2 separate regions of the Homo sapiens genome follow, and region 2 is linked to region 1. The links are contacts of gene promoters, found by promoter capture Hi-C in human tissues and cell types (Jung and others, 2019). All regions are on one chromosome and are shown on one strand. The core of a region is centred on a gene start or on the middle of the fragment in contact, and the rest is flanking DNA. Distances in the headings are between cores, read along the strand shown.

Evidence for each region. The method cuts DNA at HindIII sites, captures the fragments that hold promoters and counts their contacts. A contact is called where the count stands out against the background at its distance.
Region 2: a fragment that was not itself captured here is called in contact with the fragment with the promoter of PLEKHA7 in region 1 in 1 of the 25 tissues and cell types used here (liver).

The regions. Positions count from the first base shown.
Region 1 is chr11:17,011,798-17,016,982 of GRCh38, forward strand. PLEKHA7 (pleckstrin homology domain containing A7) reads right to left here and starts at 2,617. Exons shown (of 27, transcript NM_001329630.2): 1 at 2,519-2,617; 2 at 2,328-2,404; 3 at 2,192-2,249. The coding sequence starts at 2,604. RefSeq lists an enhancer at 379-1,140 and a silencer at 1,025-1,319. The HindIII fragment of the contact is 16,980 bases long and covers 233-5,185 here.
Region 2 is chr11:16,751,337-16,756,521 of GRCh38, forward strand. C11orf58 (chromosome 11 open reading frame 58) reads left to right here. Exons shown (of 5, transcript NM_014267.6): 4 at 1,449-1,558; 5 at 3,535-5,185. The coding sequence ends at 3,768. Among named protein-coding and RNA genes, the nearest start is that of C11orf58, 15 kb to the left of the region's middle. The HindIII fragment of the contact is 6,533 bases long and covers 1-4,517 here.

The DNA.
Region 1 (5,185 bases), core at 1,367-3,866:
CACACTATCTGACATACTCATATCTCAAATGTAAGATGGCAAAACAAGATCTCATGATTCTCCTCCACCCCAAACCGGCTCTTCCCATCTCAACGATATGAATGCTATCCACTCAGGTGCCCAAGCCCTGAGGAGTCATCTTTGCCTCTTCTCTTTCTCCCACAGACTATTCAGTCCATCATGAAGGTGTGAAGAGCCTATTTCCTAAACACAGCCTGAATGTGACCACTACTCCCTGTCTACTGTGCTACCACCCTCAGGCAAGCCACTTCTAACTCCTGCCTGGAAGAGGGCAACAGCCTCAGCTGCTCTCCTGCCTCCCCCTGCAGTGGCCACCTACAATCCAATCTCCTCACAGTGATCGTTCTAAAAACACACACCAAATCATGCCATTTCCCTGCTTAAAACCCTCCAATGACGTTTCACTGGGCTTAGAATAAAGTATGAAAATTCCTCACCCCGGCTCACAAAGCTTTGCGGCATTTACCTTTCTCCTACCTGTGACCTCTCCTCATGCCACTTTCTCCCTTGTGCACCACATTCCAGCCTTCCTGCTCCTTAAACTCCAAGCTCTTTTCTGCCTTAAGCCCTTGCCCTGGCTGTTCGCTCTTCCCGAAATGCTTTGCCAACTCATCATCACATGATGTCTCCTTCTTGTCATTCAAATTTTACTTTAAATGTTGCCTATTCAGAAACACCATCCCGATCTCCCAGTACAACCAAGCCACCCAGTCACTCCATGTCACATCACCTTATTTTAACTTTCTGCACAGTAGTAACCACGATCTGATATTATTATTTGTGTTTTTTACTTATTTTCTACTCCCTTCCCTCTCCTATTAGATTGCAAGCTCCATGAGCACCTAGAACTTTTCTGTTTTTTGTTCCCAATGCCTAGAACAACGTGTGAACGTGTGGCACACAGGAAAATTGTAATAACATCAACTGATGCAGTTATGAGCCAGAGAGGCCCACTGACAGCAAGACTCTGATGGCCCCAGCCAACTCCCCAACTTCACATACACACATATGAGGCAGGGCAATAGAACCGCAGCAAGGCCCTAGTCCTTAGGTCTGTAAATCTCACCCATCAGTATTTTCAACTATTATGCAAGAACCCAAACCAGAAAAGGAGGTTCCGGGGTTTTCTTGAAATAGGCTGCTTTATTCCTAACAGTAGTAGTTCTGACTCACAGTCGCCGAGGTACACCCAGTCAGTACTAGTCAGACCACCGTCCAGACCTTTGGCGAGCTGATTCATTCAGTGAACAAACATTTACCGAGTGCCTACTTGCTGTCCGGCACTGGGGCAAGGGGTCAAAGGCAGTGTCTGGCCTCCCGGAGCTCAGCAGGCAGAGGGAAACACGCTGCAACACAGACTCCCGCCGGAGTGGGAAAGCAAAGCCTGTACTGGCATAGGAGCCTGACCCGCGCCTTCACTTACTGCGCCCCAATCTGACATGGACTGATCCTACAGACCCAGGGTAACCTGGCTGGTGCGCCAACACTCCGGGGCTTTTGCGGAAAAGTCGCCCGTGGACTAACGGAAGCACCAGCAATCCCCCGGTTCAGCTCCGGCCGAAGAGACGCGGAGCGCTCGAGGAAAGTCATTGGTTGACCAGTTCCCTTCCCCACCCCCTCCCTCCCCGCAGGCCCGCGCAGTGGATGGAGGCCGGGGGCGAGGTTCCGACTCTCCAAGACCATCCCAGAGCCTGCGGCGGGAGAGGGGGCGTCCTCCTAAGCGAGATTCCCCTAGTCTCTCCCTCTCCCCACTCCAACCCCGCAGGCCCACACCAGGACAGAACTTCTCGTTCTACTCCTCCCACCCGAGCCCATCCAGGTCCCGGCACTCGCCTCTCCCGGCGGGGCGCAGCCCCAGACCCTAGAGGGGAGGCGTGCCCAGCCCGCACACCAGCACCCGAATCCAGCCGGATTGCAAGGTCCAGGGCGCAGAGTCTGCGGCCTCTTCCCCCCCGGCCCAGGTCCCCAGCGTAGGTGCGGCCCCCACCGCCTTCCTCTCGGAGGCCGCCAAACAACTTGGGCACACAAAACGTTGAGTGTGGCCGCGGCGCAGCGCGCGCCAACGAGCCCGGGCCGGCGGGAGCAGAGGAAGGGCGGGGCGCCCGGCGGGAACGGGGAGGGACCCCCCCCCCGCGGCACAGGTGCGAGCGCGGCGGCCCCACTCACTCACTCGATGAAGTAGCTGGCGCCCTCCTCCGTGAAGCCCTCCTCCCAGCCGCGGGGCAGGTCTGCGGAAACGCCAGAAAAGTCGGGTCAAACTTGGGCCGCCGCTGCGCGCGCCCCCCACCCGCCGGCCCGGCGCCCACCTGAGCGGATCATGTGGCCCGAGTTGACGGGCTCCCCGGTGCGCGGATGCAGCCAGGTCGTGCAGCGGAGCTGGTCACTGCGGGCAGAGAGGTGCACCTGTTAGCGCCGCCACAGCCCGCCGGGTGCCCGCCCGGCCCCCGCCCCCGCGCCCCCACCCGCGTCCCCGCGTCCCCGGGTCCTCGCGCCGCACTTGATGAAGAAGACGCGGCCATCCCGGCACACCCCGTAGGACCAATGCTCAGGTAAAGTGTCCCGCCCGACCGTCGCCGCCGCCATGTTCGCCGAGCGCGGAGCCGCCGCGGGGTGGGGGGGAGGGGGCGGGGGCGCGGGCAGGGGCGGAGGCGGGGGCGGTGGCGGGGGCTCGGCCTGCGCGTGGCCCGGCGGCGCCGCGAGGCGCTCCATCCAGGCGCGGGCTCCTGAGGGAGCGACCGCCCGGCCGGGTCCTGGCGCCCGGAGTTCGCAGCCGCTCCGGCCAACCCAGCGCAGTGCCCGCGGCCTTTGTCCCCGAGCCTTCCCCGCCCCCAGCCTGCTGGCACCGGCGCTCCCCTTTGCCCCCGAGGCCGGGAGACCCGGGCGGCGCGGGGGGCCGCTGGCGGGGGCCGCTGGCGGGCGCGCCTGGGCAGCTTCGGGGCGCGCGGTTGGACCCGACCAACTCCGAAAACGGCGAGCGCCCGAACGCTCAGTAAACCCCAGCCGACCCGCACCACAGAACTTCCCGACCCGGGAACTCCGCTTGTGTGTGAACCAAGTTAACACTCAGGTTCCTGCCATATTCCCAGCCTCCTTCTCTTCCCCTGTAAGGTTAATCGAGTCCACACGGGATTGTTGTGTAGATTAAATGAAGTAACAATCGCATAAAGTGCTTAACCGGACCATGGCATGTAGTAGGTGCTCTATCAACGGCAGGCCGAGCGCGATTTCATTTTCCCAAGTTTTCAGCTGGGATGTGAAACAGGAGGGAGCAGGGTTACCGCCACACACCACTGAGGTTGCAGGGATCGCAAGCTCTTGCCTTCAGTTTCTGTCAAGTAACAGAAAAAAGGGGTTTTGAGGGCTCGGCAGCACGTCCATCTCTGGAAGAGCGGTGGCCAGGCGGGGCCTCTAGGGGGCCCTGCAAAGCTCTTTGCAGTGGCGGCACCCTCTCATATTCGGGTCTTTACTCCTATCTTATCTCCTCGGGGAGCCCTCCCTGAGCCCTCTGCAAAGAAAATCCTTCCCCTCCTTCCCTCGCTATTTCATTACTTGTTTACATTTAATTGATATTTGTGTTTGTCTTGTTTGTTGTATATTAGTTCCAACATGTCAGCTGGATGAGAGAAGGGGCTTTGATCTACCTCATACACTGCCTGGTCTCCAATGCCTGGAACAGCACCTGACTCATGTATGCATTACGCATTCAATAACTGTAGGATGGGGTGGGGCACGGTGGCTCAGGCCTGTAATCCCAGCACTCTTGGAGGCCGAGGCGGGTGAATCACTTGAGGTCAGGAGTTCTATTCCAGCCTGGCCAACATGGTGAAACCCCGTCTCTACCAAAAAAATACAAAAGCTAGCCGGGCGTGGTGGCGGGCGCCTGTAATCCCAGCTACTCAGGAGGCTGAGGCGGGAAAATCGCTTGAACCAGGGAGGCAGAGGTTGCAGTGAGCCGAGATCGCGCCGCTGCCCTGCAACCTGTGCAACAGCGAGACTCAGTCTAAAAAAAAAAACTGCAGGATGAGTGAATGAAACATACTCCACACTCAGACTCCCGGCCACACACACACACACACACACACACACACACTGAGCAAAGACAGAGCAGCAGCTGGGCTCCAGCTGTTGTCAGGCCCAGCCTTCTCGGGACATAGGCTCTGATTGATGGGAGGAGGCGCGCCTGAAAGTGAGACTGTATGCAATGTGAGCACTAGTTATTCAGAAAGGTGCCCAAACAGGTGGAATTAGGCTGGACCCTGAAGGACTGGTTAGGTTTGACTGGGAAAAGAGCACTCCAGAGGGGAGGGATGGGAGAGCATGCACATAATTTTGGGAGGGCTGTGAGATGTTGATGAGACCATAAAGGGGCCCTTCCTTGGGAACAGACAGTGGTGTTGGGGAAGGAGGCATTTATGAGTTAGAAGAGGTAACTGGTTGCAGAGGACGGGGGACACCTGTCTGAAGGAACCTCCTGCCTCTGAGGAGGTTGTTGAGCAAATGAAAATAGGAAAGCGGTGTTTTGCTAGCTAAACATTGATTTTAAATAATACATTAAATGGGCAAAGGGTATGAACCCACAGTTAATAGAAAAGTAATACAGATAACTTTTAAGCAAATGAAAAGATACTGAGCCACTTCATAATAGAAGAACTGCAACTTACGGTGAAATACTATTTTTTTAGATGTCAGATTGGAAAAGATAAATTAGAAAAGATATTGGCCAGGCGTGGTGGCTCACGCCTGTAATCCCAGCACTTTGGGAGGCTGAGGCGGGTGGATCGCTTGAGATCAGCAATTCGAGACCAGCCTGGCCAACATGGTGAAACCTTGTCTCTACTAAAAACACAAAAATTAACTGGGCATGGTGGTGCATGCCTGTAATCCCAGCTACTTGGGAGGCTGAGGCAGGAGAATCACTTGAACCCTAGAGGTGGAGGTTTCAGTGAGCAGAGATCACGCCACTGCACTCCAGCCTGGGTGACAGAGTGAAACTCTGTCTCATAAAAGAAAGAAAGAAAAGATATTGTAGAGAAAGACATTCTTGTTCATTGTTGATGGGACTTTAAAATGTTTGAGCCTCTTCGAAGGCAATTTGGCACAGCTATTCCAACCTCAATGTCTTGACCTAGCAATTTCATGTCAGGAATTTATCCTACATTAGTGC
Region 2 (5,185 bases), core at 1-2,500, 260 kb before region 1:
CTAAAAAATACAAAAATTAGCTAGGCATGGTGGCACATGCCTATAATCCCGGCTACTCGGGAGGCTGAGGCACGAGAATCACTTGAGCCTGGAAGGCAGAGGTTGCAATGAGCCGAGATCATGCCACTGCACTCCAGCCTGGGCAAGAGAGCGAGACTCCCTCGAAAAAAAAAAAAAAACTTGCTTACTTGTGTGACATATTCAATCTGTCACCTCAGGGGAGAACAAAACTGTGTTCAAGTTGGCAGATAGAGTGGCTGCATTCAAAGCCAGACTAGTATTATGGGGGCCACAAGTGAACATTGGGATTTTTTGACATGTTTCAAACATTAGCAGAGATTTTAAAAGAGACTGAGCCAGGACCTTTTTTCTCCCAGCTGGCACATGATCACCTATCTCAGCCTTCAAAGAGTTTGAGTATTATTTTCCAGCCACGAAAGAGCCCCGAACTGGGAAGGAATGGATTCACAACCCATTTGTGAATAAGCCAGGTGAATCGACTTTGTTCATGCTAGAAGAGGATCAGCTGCTTAAGATCACAAATGATGTTGCCCTTAAAAGTATGTTTGAGACAACTTCACATCTCCATACATTCTGGATTAAAGACAAAGTGGAACATCCTGAGATTGCCACGAAAGCACTGGAAAGCCTGCTTCCATTTCCAACCTCCTGTCTTTGTGAAACAGGGTTTTCTGTAGTGACAGCAGCCAAACAAGATTACAGAGTAGACTGGACATAAGCAACACACTTAGGGTGTCACTGTCTCCCATCACCCCTAGATGGGACCGTCTAGTTGCAGGGAAAACAAGCTCAGGGCTCCCACTGCTTCTACATTATGGTGAGTTGTACAATTATTTCATTATATATTACGATGTGATAATAATAAAGTACACAATAAATGTAATACACTTGAATCATCTCAAAACCACCACCACCCCCCTCCATGGAAAAATTGTTTTCCACAAAACCGGTGCCTGGTGCCAAAAAGGTTGGAAACTGCTGCTTTAAACTTTTAAGTTGCTCTGATAAACTTGATAAGCAAAGAAAGGCATAAAGAAGAGTCAGTACATGACCATTTTATTTAGCCATTTGCTGAACAGAAGTGCCTAGCTTTTTTCACTGTTTTTGTTCAAAGATAGATAATTCTGTTTGTTAGAGAGTTTTTATTAGGTGACTAGAAAAAAATCTTTCAGGATAACATCTACTTATTATAAGTAAGCTAAAACATTTAATACCCAAAGTGCTTAGTAATAAATATTTATGCTATCTCAACATCAGGCATTTTATTTTCTATTAGGTAACCACCTATGGCATAAATTCTCAAAAGTCATAGTAAAATTAGTCACAATTAGATAAATCAGCCCTGAGTATAATAGCATCTGTATTATGGGTTTTTGTGTAAATTATTAATTTGACTGAAACATAACTAAAGTATCCTGGACATGCAGGGGAAGAAGACAAGAAAATTAATGAAGAACTGGAGTCTCAATATCAGCAAAGTATGGACAGTAAATTATCAGGAAGATATCGGCGACATTGTGGACTTGGCTTCAGTGAGGTAGTAATTAACTTATTTTCATTGGGAAGATAATTAGTTTTCAATTTGGTACCATTTATTGCTGTTAGATTACCCTAGCAATCAAGAATCCCATGTAGAAAGCTTTCTGTATGTAGTTATCTTAAAAATAATTTTGTATATGCCCTACTGGTCTTGTAGATAATCAGGAGAGATGTTTCTAAGGATTTTGTGTGGGGTTGTTTTTTCCTTTTTTTTTGAGATGCAGTCTCACTGTCACCAGGCTGGAGTGCAGTGGTGTGATGTCTTCCACCTCGCGGGTTCAAGTGATTCTTCTGCCTCAGCCTCCTGAGTAGCTGGGATTACAGGCGCCTGCCATCACGCCCAGCCAATTTTTGTAGAGATGGGGTTTCACCATGTAACCAGGCTGGCCTCAAACTCCTGACCTCAGGTGATCCCACCCACCTTGGGCTCCCAAAGTGCTGGTATTACAGGTGTGAGCCACCATACCCGGCCTTTTATTTTTCTTTTGGAGACAGTCTCTCTCTGTTGCCCCAGGCTGGGGTGCAGTGGCTCCATCTCAGCTCACTGCAACTTCCACCTCCCGGGTTCAAGCAATTCTGCCTCAGCCTCCCGAGTAGCTGGGATTACAGGTGCATGCCGCCACACCAGGCTAATTTTTTGTATTTCAGGAGAGATAGGGTTTCACCATGTTGCCCAGGCTGGCCTTGAACTACTGAGCTCAGGCAATCCGCCCACCTCAGCCTCCCAAAGTGCTAGGATTACAGGCTTGAACCACCATGTCCAGCCTCACCTGGCCTGTTTCTAAGGATTTTAAAGTGTGTTTTCTGAAAGTGAAAATTCTGCTTAATCATTAGAGTACCTTTCTTTCCCCCTTTTTTGAGACAGGTTCTCACTCTGTCACCCAGGCTGGAGTATAGTGGCACAGTCTCACTGCCACCTTAGCCTCCTGAGGACCTGGGATATAGGCCTGCACCACCATGCCTAGCTAATTTTTGTATTTTTTGTAGAGACGGAGTTTTGCTATGTTGCCCAGGCTGGTCTCAAAACTCCTGGGTTCAAGCGATCTTTCCGCCTTCCAAAGTGCTGGAACTACAGGTGTGAGCCACCATGTCCGGCCAGGGCACATTTTTAATAGGCGTGAACAACAACATGCTCACAAGTTAAGTAAAATATTTCATTTAGGTTTAAAATAATGGTTTAGGAGAGCTTTTTTATTTTTTTTTCAGTTGTTTCCTAAGTGATCTCTTTTTATATTATGAATTTATGTGTGACTACTGTTTACTCCAAAGTAATACAATGTGCAAAACATTGATAACTGATTTCTACATAAAGGTCAGTGGTTAACATGCCTTATTAATTTAAAAAATTGTTTCTTTCAGGAAAATATAATACCATGGTTTTCAAACTAGGGGAGGGGAGATAGGTGTGTGATCTTCAGAGCACCTCCCCTCTTGTTTTCTTTTGTCTTTTAAGAAATGGAGTCTTGCTCTGTCACACAGGCTGGAATGTAGTGGCATGATCATAGCTCGCTACAGCCTTGAACTCCTAGGCTCAAGCAATCCTCCCACCTCAGCCTCCCGAGTAGCTAGAACTACAGGCATGCACCACCATGCCTGGCTAATTTTTTTCTTTTTTCTTTTTTTTTTTTTAGTTTCTCTCTCTCTCTCTCCCTTTTTTTTTTTTTTTTTTTTTTTTTTTTTTTTTTTTTTAAGAGACAGGGTCTCACTATGTTGCCCAGGCTGGTCTCAAACTTTGGGCCTCAAGCAATCCCCCTGCCTCTCAGCCTCTTGAGTAGCTGGAATCCCAGCCACAGGTATGAGCCACTGGGCCCAGCCAGACAGAGCTCTTTCTTAAAATTCTACTCAAGTCTTAAAGCTGTTGTTCTAATGGCTACAAAGTAGAGTGTTTCTAAGACCGACAGAACTTACGGTCTTTCTCAGATTTTGTATGGGCTAATGTTTATTTTTAAAAGAGCCTGTTGATTGATGTTTTAGGTAGAAGACCATGATGGAGAAGGTGATGTGGCTGGAGATGATGATGATGACGATGATGATTCACCTGATCCTGAAAGTCCAGATGATTCTGAAAGCGATTCAGAGTCAGAGAAAGAAGAATCTGCTGAAGAACTCCAAGCTGCTGAGCACCCTGATGAAGTGGAGGATCCCAAAAACAAAAAAGATGCAAAAAGCAATTATAAAATGATGTTTGTTAAATCCAGTGGTTCATAACTCCCAAACGCTTAGTCTTTGTATTAAAAGTAAGCCTTATTGTTACAATGCACAGTGGAGGACTGCTTATAGAGCACAGACCTTTGTATTATAATTTTTAAAAAGGCCCTTTTAAATAATTACAAAGAGTGTTTGCTTTCAAATGCCATGGGTTACACTTTTATGGGCATGACTATAACCATTTTTGTAAAGAGTAAGAGTTGTATAAAATAAGAAATAAATACAGTACTCAACTTCCTTTCATATTAGCATCATCAACCCTCTAATTCACCTTATGGGGGAAATGCTTCTTTTTGTTTGTGATAGCTATTTTATCATTTCCTTCATATTTTTCTCTTATAAAAATGTATTTGATACTGTGATATGTTCACGAAAAGTATTCTTTAATTATTCTTTGTTATAGTAGAGCTGTTCATTATGGATATTTCTGCTGCCAGTCACAATCTAAATTAATTTTGGCAAAAGATTGGGTACTTAGTTTCCTGTTACTGAGTTAGCTCTACTCTTTTGGACCAAAGCAACATGAGAGCAAGTACTTTTCACACTTGTTAAGATGGAGTTATAACTGTCATACATTTGGAATATTATGATCCCAAGTAGTCTTTTTATAATTTGGATTGTATCGTATGTTAGATTTTTGATAAAATTTGGCCAATTTTTACAGAAGAAATTCTCTGATCATTTAGTTCTGTCTATTTAGAAATATGTAAAACTGGATTTTTTTTTAAGTAATATGTGACCAAAGTTAATTTTGTCCCAAAGGTCTAAATAAAGAGCAGTTTCCCATATTTGGCTGTGATACCTTTATCCTCATTATCTACAAATGAGGAACAGGCTTACTGATAAGAAGCTGAAACAAGAAATTCTCTTCATTTTATCCCAGTGCTATTTTATTGATTAATTACTAAAAAGTATTACTTTCTAATTTTATTGCTGTTTCTGTTGGTGTGAGATTAGAATCATCTGACTGCTATTAGGTGGTTGATTTGTATAGCTGATTAACACAAATTGCATTATGAGCTAGTAAATGGATCTTTGGATAATGGGGTCCAAATTCTTAATGTTTATAAGTAACAAGTTCAAAGGCTTTAGTCACACCTGTTTGTGAGCTGAGCTATTATACATCTACATACTTAAAGGATGTATTTGGAGTGTTGGATTTTTTTTTTTTTTTTTTTTTTTTGAGACGGAGTCTCATTCTGTCGCCCAGGCTGGAGTGCAGTGGCGCGATCTCAGCTAACTGCAACCTCTGCCTCCCAGGTTCAAGCGATTCTCCTGCCTCAGCCTCCCAAGTAGTTGGGACTACAGTCATGTGCCACTACTCCTGGCTAATTTTTTGTATTTTTAGTAGAGTTGGGGTTTCACGGTGTTAGCCAGGATCGTCTCGATCTCCTGACCTCGTGATCCACCCACCTTG